Regions from separate parts of the Homo sapiens genome. Here region 2 is linked to region 1. Evidence: promoter capture Hi-C in human tissues and cell types (Jung and others, 2019). All regions are on one chromosome and are shown on one strand. The core of a region is centred on a gene start or on the middle of the fragment in contact, and the rest is flanking DNA. Distances in the headings are between cores, read along the strand shown. Region 1 holds the start of TFF1 (trefoil factor 1). Region 2 overlaps ABCG1 (ATP binding cassette subfamily G member 1).

Region 1 (3,924 bases), core at 849-3,348:
TGTAGGTATTGCATCAGGTATTATAACTAACCTAGAGATGGTTAAAGTGTAGGAGAGGATGCACGTGGTTTCTGCGCACTATGTCATTTTATACCAGGGACTTGAGCATTTGTGGATTTTGGCATCCCTGGGTGGGGGGTCCTGAAACCAGTCCCCCAGGGGTACTAAGGGACGACTGCATTGTATTTTAAGTTCATTTTCCCTTTCCCTGGTTAATGAATATTTATTTTGCTTTTCTTTCCCTCCTTTCCTTCCTTCCTTCTTTCCCTGTTTCCAGCTGTTACAAACAATGCTAAAAAGAATATCTTTGCCTGTGTTTTCTTCTGCCCAAGTATGAACATGTTTCTGGGATTAAGAGACCAGGCCTGGAAACAGAAGAATTTGCTGAGCTGTAAAATCTGTATGGCTTAAACCTCACCGAACACTGCCCACCTTTTCTCCAAATGATTGTGCAATTTACATCCCATTTCCAAGAGCCCCCATTTTGATCCGAGAAATTAGAGCAGCGAAAACCACCGTCACTATGAGCACCACCCTGGGCCTGGTGCCCCCGTCCTGTTTTCAATAAACTTAAGCTGACCACAGAGGACACCAGGCCTCGGCCCCTCCCTGGGTCCTGCGGTCAGGCCCCTCCTGGAGACCCTGGCCCAGGAGTGGAGACCCCGGTGCAGGAGTGGCAGCCCTGGAGGAGGGGCTGGGTCCTGGGATGGAGCGAAGAGGAACATGGCCGCCCCCATTCTGGCCCAGGCTCCCCTCCCAGAGGGGCTGCAGAAATGTACTGACTAGGTCACCCAAGAAAAGATAGTACCTTTGTTAGGCTAGCATGCATTTTCCTCAGGGCCTAATTTCTCACTGAAGAAGAAAAGATTTCTCCTGTTGTCCATTTCTTCATGCAGCTCTTCAACAGCTGTTTCTCGAATGCCAATCAAAGCCACTGTTCTAGGGTCTGGGGCCACCTCAAGGCACTAGGAGATGAGGACTTCTGCTCCCATGCGCCCTCCCGTCTGCTGCAGGGAGGAGTGCAATGAATAAATAACCAACATAATGTGTCAGTCACTTGTTTTATCCACCAGGAGGTAATAAGAGCTATGAAAGAGAAAGCTCCGAGCAGGGGAGGGGAGTGAGGCATGGTACAGGAGAGCAGGAGGCTGTCCTCTAAAATACAGGAGTCCAGGGGACCAACTGGGAAGGTGTGGGAGGGGGAGGGAGGGAGCCCCATAGACACAGGGGAGTGAACCACGTTCACTTTGTCAGTTTTTGATGGCAGCTCGTATATACTATTTTTTTCTCCCTCCTGCCCCCAGCCCCTCCCAGAAGGAGACTTAATCTGTCGCTCAGGCTGGAGTGCAGTAGGGTGATCTCGACTCACTGCAACCTCCGCCTCCCAGGTTCAAGTGATTCTCCTGACTTAACCTCCAGAGTAGCTAGGATTACAGGCACCCGCCACCATGCCTGGCTAATTTTTGTATTTTTTTTTTTTGTAGAGACGGGGTTTCGCCATGTTGGCCAGGCTAGTCTCAAACTCCTGACTTTAAGTGATCCGCCTGCTTTGGCCTCCCAAAGTGTTGGGATTACAGGCGTGAGCCACTGCGCCAGGCCTACAATTTCATTATTAAAACAATTCCACTGTAAAAGAATTAGCTTAGGCCTAGACGGAATGGGCTTCATGAGCTCCTTCCCTTCCCCCTGCAAGGTCACGGTGGCCACCCCGTGAGCCACTGTTGTCACGGCCAAGCCTTTTTCCGGCCATCTCTCACTATGAATCACTTCTGCAGTGAGTACAGTATTTACCCTGGCGGGAGGGCCTCTCAGATATGAGTAGGACCTGGATTAAGGTCAGGTTGGAGGAGACTCCCATGGGAAAGAGGGACTTTCTGAATCTCAGATCCCTCAGCCAAGATGACCTCACCACATGTCGTCTCTGTCTATCAGCAAATCCTTCCATGTAGCTTGACCATGTCTAGGAAACACCTTTGATAAAAATCAGTGGAGATTATTGTCTCAGAGGATCCCCGGGCCTCCTTAGGCAAATGTTATCTAACGCTCTTTAAGCAAACAGAGCCTGCCCTATAAAATCCGGGGCTCGGGCGGCCTCTCATCCCTGACTCGGGGTCGCCTTTGGAGCAGAGAGGAGGCAATGGCCACCATGGAGAACAAGGTGATCTGCGCCCTGGTCCTGGTGTCCATGCTGGCCCTCGGCACCCTGGCCGAGGCCCAGACAGGTAAGGCGTGCTTCTTCCTGCTCTGTGGGGCCACAGCCAGCTCTGGCAGCCTCCGCCAGGAGCCACTGTTTTACATACATATTTTTGAGCACCTGTTTTGTGCCAGGTGCTGTTCTAGGCCCTTAAAAGTATATCCAATTTACAGGATCGGCAAAAGCAGGTGGAGAGTAACTCAGGGTGGCAGGGCCCCCGGAGACCTTCGAGAAGTGCGACGAGGAGGGGGCTGCCTTCAGTCGGGGCTGTTTTCCTGTGTTAGGAAGACTATACAATCCTCCCAAGTGTCATGTTTCAAAGAGGAAGTGTTGGCGTGGGGTCTCAGAATAGTGCTTTTGACTGTTCATGCCAACATCTCCCCCAGGGGCAGACCCTCCCAAGGCCCATCCAGATAGGCCCAAATGCCGGTCCCAGTGATGGCCACCTGGGAGACCCTCTCCCACAGGCCCGAATGCCCGTCCCAGTGGTGGCCAACTGGGAGACCCTCTCCTACAGGTTCCTGGGCTCCCCTGGGATCCATGCTCTGGGAGTCAAAGCCACCTCTCTCATGAGTGCGTGGCTGGCAACCCATATTCCCTGGTGTTGTCAAGTGGATCGGTTGCCCTGGGTCCTTCTAGGGAGTGGAGGAGGAGGCCATTCTTGCTTCCTTGGGAAGTGTTTGCATCTCAACTCCTTTACCTGCAGAATGGATCAACGGTCTGCCCTAGGGCTGTCAGGAAATGCTGTGTGGCAGCATCTGCGACTTGCACTTTGCCAGCTGTGGGGAGCTGAATAACTTATTTGCCGTTATTAGGTACAGTTTCAAGGTGGGGGCAGGAGAAAGGGCTTTCTACGTTTCCAAAGCAAGGGTTTCCAGAGAGGCCTGAAGAGGGAGCGCCCAGTGGTGCTGTCCGTGCCCCCACTGCCCTCCAGCCACCTCTTGATCTCTGCTGTGGGGTACCGGGCCTGAGGGGTGGGCTTGGGCAGCGTAGAAGAGCAGCCAGCATTGGGCTGCAGTGGGAAGACCCCCAAGCCCATGGCAGGGAGCGGGGGAGCTTTGGAACCCGAGAGAGGAAGTGGCCTCGGTGTACAGAACGAACTGGGTGGGTCCCCGTGCTGGCCACCCCCAGGCCCATCTGCCTGCGCCCTTGCCCCCACCCCAGCCCCCAGCTCTGCCCCCTGTGCTGTGGGATCACAGAGGCCGTGGCAAACTCCCCTCCCCACCCCACACACCCTCTGGCTCAAGGCTCAGAGCGTCTTTGCGGGTCACTCAGGTCCATGATCCTGTTACAACTGAAATCTAGAAAATTGTGATTACAGTTTAGTGCATTCGTGTGTGGAAACCATTTCCATTTATTTCCATCATGCGACAAAGACAAAGCGGGTGGGCAAGACAGAGTCTGCCGGAGGCAGAGCACCGGGGCTGGAAATCTTCCTCCCTGAGGAGGAAACCCCCCCGACCCCCAGGATGATGATCCTCCCTCACCACGGGGCCTCTCTTGACCCCCACAGTGTCCCGGGGGTGGGCGATGATCACCTTCACGTCGCGATGGATCCAGACCCCAGGAGGGCAAGGTTCCCATGGAAGCTGCTGGGCAGCGGGAGCTGAACACGGATCCTTCCCAGCAAGCCAGGAACACTTTCTCCAAAGACATCTCGAGGCAGTCCCTGATAGCAAAGCAGACAAGAGAACAGCCCCTCTCGGCCTCCCCTGGGGCGCCCTCACCTG
Region 2 (3,969 bases), core at 1,403-3,902, 98 kb after region 1:
CAGGTGCGAGCCACCACACCCGGCTCAAACTTCTAAACAACTAAGACCATCACAAGCCCCAGCCAAACAGTTCTCATTCTCTTCTGAAAATGCCTTGTCTCTCTTCAACTTGCATTCACTCCTGTTCTCTCCAAGTTCTCTGGCCACCCCTCTCCCTGAACTTGACCTTCCTACTTCCTCCTGTCCCTTTAGCCAGGCTGAGCTCATCCAGGGTGCTGCTGTGGCCACTGTCTCCAGGGACCCCTCTCTGAGTGTGGCTCTCCACCCATCATATGGCCCTTGGCAAGTGCAGCCTCTCAATGTCACTCTCTCCCCTGGACTACTGCTGTAGACCACAGCCTGCTCCAGGTGATGGGGCTGATGGAAGGAGCTCCACTGTTCCCACTGCTGGCCTGACACCCGGGAGAGAACTTTGCGCCCTGGGCAGGGCTGCTCACCTGTATCCAGCCAGGATGTTCATCAGCGTGGACTTCCCGGCCCCGGAAGGACCCATAATGGCCACCAACTCACCACTATTGAACTTCCCGGAAATTCCTTTCAGGAGGGTCTTGTATCCTGCAAAAAAGCAGATCATATTCATATTCATTTCATTTTATCTCTAATGCAGTAAATATGCAAATGTTCAAGTACACATGACCAAGGCCAAAGGCAACCTTTGACATGCATCATAGAAAAGGCTGCATTCCAGGGAAGAACATGAACTTCATGTCTTTCGAATTCCCTGGTCTACGTCTTCAATTGCATTTCACAGGTTATAATAATGATAATAATTACCAGCACGTGTGTAATGCTTTAGAGCTCACAAAGCACTTTCCCACTCATTGTCTAGTCTATGGGGAATCCACCATTCCCGTCTCAGAGTGAGGAAGCGATGTCCGGTGGGCCCAGGTGACCTGCCCAAGCCCTCGGCCAGTATGGGCAGAACCCAGCTCTGAGCTGCAGCACTACCAGCTTGCTCCTGCCCCGAGATGCCATGCATGTGTCTGTTTTAATTAATAATTCACTTACTGCATCTACAAATTATTTATTTATGCTTTATATATTTACATAAGTATAAATTATGTATATATGATTTATTTATAAATAATCAACATATGATTAAATAATCAATATATTATTAATCCCTTAATTAATAATTAAGAAAGTTTGTCATTTTGGAGCCACACCAAACTGCTTTGGAATTTCTGCCAAGTCTCCATCTGAGAGCTTTATAAAAGGGGAAAAGCTGCACATCCCAAGCAAAGCCACATTAATTTTTTTTCAAATAGACTGTTTAAAAGTGCTGTAAATAATAAAACAGAAGCAACTGGATGCATAGATAATGTCTCCCAATCCAGGGGCACTTTTTTTTTTTTTTTTTTTTTTGAGACTGAGTCTTGCTCTGTCGCCCATGCTAGAGTGCAGTGGCACAATCTTGGCTCACTGCAAGTTCCGCCTCCCGGGTTCACACCATTCTCCTGCCTCAGCCTCCCGAGTAGCTAGTACTAGAGGCGCCTGCCACCATGCCTGGCTAATTTTTTGTATTTTTAGTAGAGACAGGGTTTCACCGTGTTAGCCAGGATGGTCTCAATCTCCTTGTGATCCGCCCGCCTCGGCCTCCCAAAGTGCTGGGATTACAGGCGTGAGCCACCGCGCCCGGCCCAGGGGCACTTCTCAGTGTAGTATCAGATCAGAATCCACTGTTAAATGATCAAGAATCACGTGAATGCCATTTTAGCTTCCACACGTTTCAGGGGACCTAATGAGACAGGGACCTGTGGGGTCCTTGGCCCAGTCCCGTGTTTTAGACTTTCTCCCGGTCCCCAGCTGGGCACCCAAGCCTTTATGTTTCCAAGAGTCTGGCCCAGGGGAGTTTGCTCCCAGCTGTCTTCCTGTCTTTCATAGATAGGACACCGGAAAATGCCAACCTGCCACCAGGTGCCGCCTTAATTTGGATGTGGAGTCCCTGAGGCCTTGTTTAGGGGAGTCAGAGAGCTGCGGAAGCCAGTCAGGAAGCTTGGGACTGCCACTCATTACAGACAGGGCGGTTGTCGCCCCAGGGAGGGTGAGGAGAGTCATCCCAGCGGGGGTAGGGGCACAGGAAGAAAGGGCTGGGGCTGGAGAGCAGCTCAGAGCTGCGGGTGAACCAGCTCGTACAATAGGACTGTGGATGACAATGCTTACAAACACACAGCACTTGAGGCCTACACAGATTAGCGGGGCTGGAGGAGGACCGGGAACCCCAAGAATAGCCCTTCTGCTGAGCCATGGGTGCCCCTCAGTGGACAGGCAGACAGAGGAGCTGGGGACCACATAGACACTTCCTCCACAGGAGCAAGCTCTCTGCACCATGGAGTACTGCGGCACTTCGGGCACCCAGGCCCCCGGGGACCCACGCGATATCCCCAAGAAAGCACTAAGTGCTGGGTACCTGCTTTACCATCTCTTGTCTATTCAGGGTGGAAGTGGGGCTACTCCCCAGCAAACCTCCCTTAGGCTGTGTCCTCTCAAACTTATGAGCTGCCTGAAGACGCCTGGTCACTGAGCTCACCAGCAGCCATCATCTGACTATGGCCACGACCCACCTGAGGGTTCATGCCTCGGGCTCTGAGAAGCCTCTCTCCCTCCGTCCAGGGCAGGCAGGGCCCACCTCTCTTTCTGGGCACAGCCTCTGAGCTCTCACCTTTGACAGTGCCTGGGGCTGACCCTCAGTGCTGGGGCTCACTGGGGCACCCGATGATCACCCTGGCTGGAGGAAGCACATACAGGCTGCAATGACCCCCAGGACCCCAGGAACAGGACATGGCATGGAGGCTGGGAGCATTCGGCCCTCTCATGGGAAGAGCAGGACAGGTGGTCTCAGGCTGGTCTTGCTATTGAGAACCAGCAAACTGGAATTTGCACCAAACAGAGAGTGCACACAACTGGGGCTGCAGAGGTCCACTCCACCTGGCCCTCATGGGGTCCAGCAGTGGACACAAAACCCAATTCAGGGCTGTACTTCTCTAATATTAGAAACTTATTTTTCTTTCTTTCTTTTTTTTAAAAAAAGACATGCATTTGGAATTGAAGAATCTTAAAAGTGGCTCTGGAAACAAAGTCCAGTAAACATTAGTCTGCCCTGCTGTGGGACAGCCCGGGTACAACAGTGACCTTGTGCACATCTAAAAGTGAGTCCTGGGCTGAGGGGCCCAGGAAACACCAGCCAGAGGCTTCCTGTGGTAGTCGGGTTTCCTGAGTATCCAGCGCGCGCGCGCACACACACACACACACACACACACACCCCTACCTCTATTTATGTAAGGAAATCACCCTCCCCGCAGAGTCCTCCACTTGGTTCCCATTACAGAAATATAAAGCGAAGATGCGACCATCCCACCCCGCCTGCCCTACTTTCCCACCCCTGAGCTCTGCTCAGCCCACTTCTTGGCATAATGGACATGCACCTGCCTCCCTGTCCTTGTGGGCTCTCGTTCACAGGGCACACTGTCTTCCACTGTTTTTCTGGCTGGGATAGTGAGTGCCCAGGATAACAAGTGCAGAGACTGCCAGAGCCAGGCCCAGTGAAGGCCCATCAGCCCCGTGCAGGATGCCCAGGTTCAGTATTTGAAACAGCCAGATGGTAGCCCAGACCAGAGCTTAGACACAACCCAGGCCAGACCAGAGCCGCAGACTAGAACAGCCAGACCAGAACTTAGACAGAACCCAGACCACACCCAGACAGAACCCAGACCACACCCAGACAGAACCCAGACCACACCCAGACAGAACCCAGACCAGACCCAGATCAGACCCAGACAGAACCCAGACCAGACCCAGACAGAACCCAGACCACACCCAGACAGAACCCAGACCAGACCCAGACAGAACCCAGACCACACCCAGGCAGAACCCAGACCACACCGAGACAGAACCCAGACCAGACCCAGATAGAACTCAGACCAGACCCAGACAGAACCCAGACCAGACCCAGACAGAACTCAGACCAGA

The links. The method cuts DNA at HindIII sites, captures the fragments that hold promoters and counts their contacts. A contact is called where the count stands out against the background at its distance.
Region 2: a fragment that was not itself captured here is called in contact with the fragment with the promoter of TFF1 in region 1 in 2 of the 25 tissues and cell types used here (IMR-90 fibroblasts and lymphoblastoid cells).

What each region holds. Positions count from the first base shown.
Region 1 is chr21:42,364,709-42,368,632 of GRCh38, reverse strand. TFF1 (trefoil factor 1) reads left to right here and starts at 2,098. Exons shown (of 3, transcript NM_003225.3): 1 at 2,098-2,222. The coding sequence starts at 2,138. LOC105372815 (a long non-coding RNA gene) reads right to left here. Exons shown (of 3, transcript XR_937755.3): 3 at 3,521-3,924. RefSeq lists an enhancer at 1-1,050 and a silencer at 1,677-1,776. The HindIII fragment of the contact is 32,159 bases long and covers 1-3,924 here.
Region 2 is chr21:42,267,656-42,271,624 of GRCh38, reverse strand. ABCG1 (ATP binding cassette subfamily G member 1) reads right to left here. Exons shown (of 15, transcript NM_016818.3): 3 at 438-555. Among named protein-coding and RNA genes, the nearest start is that of TFF3, 46 kb to the left of the region's middle. The HindIII fragment of the contact is 6,788 bases long and covers 1-3,969 here.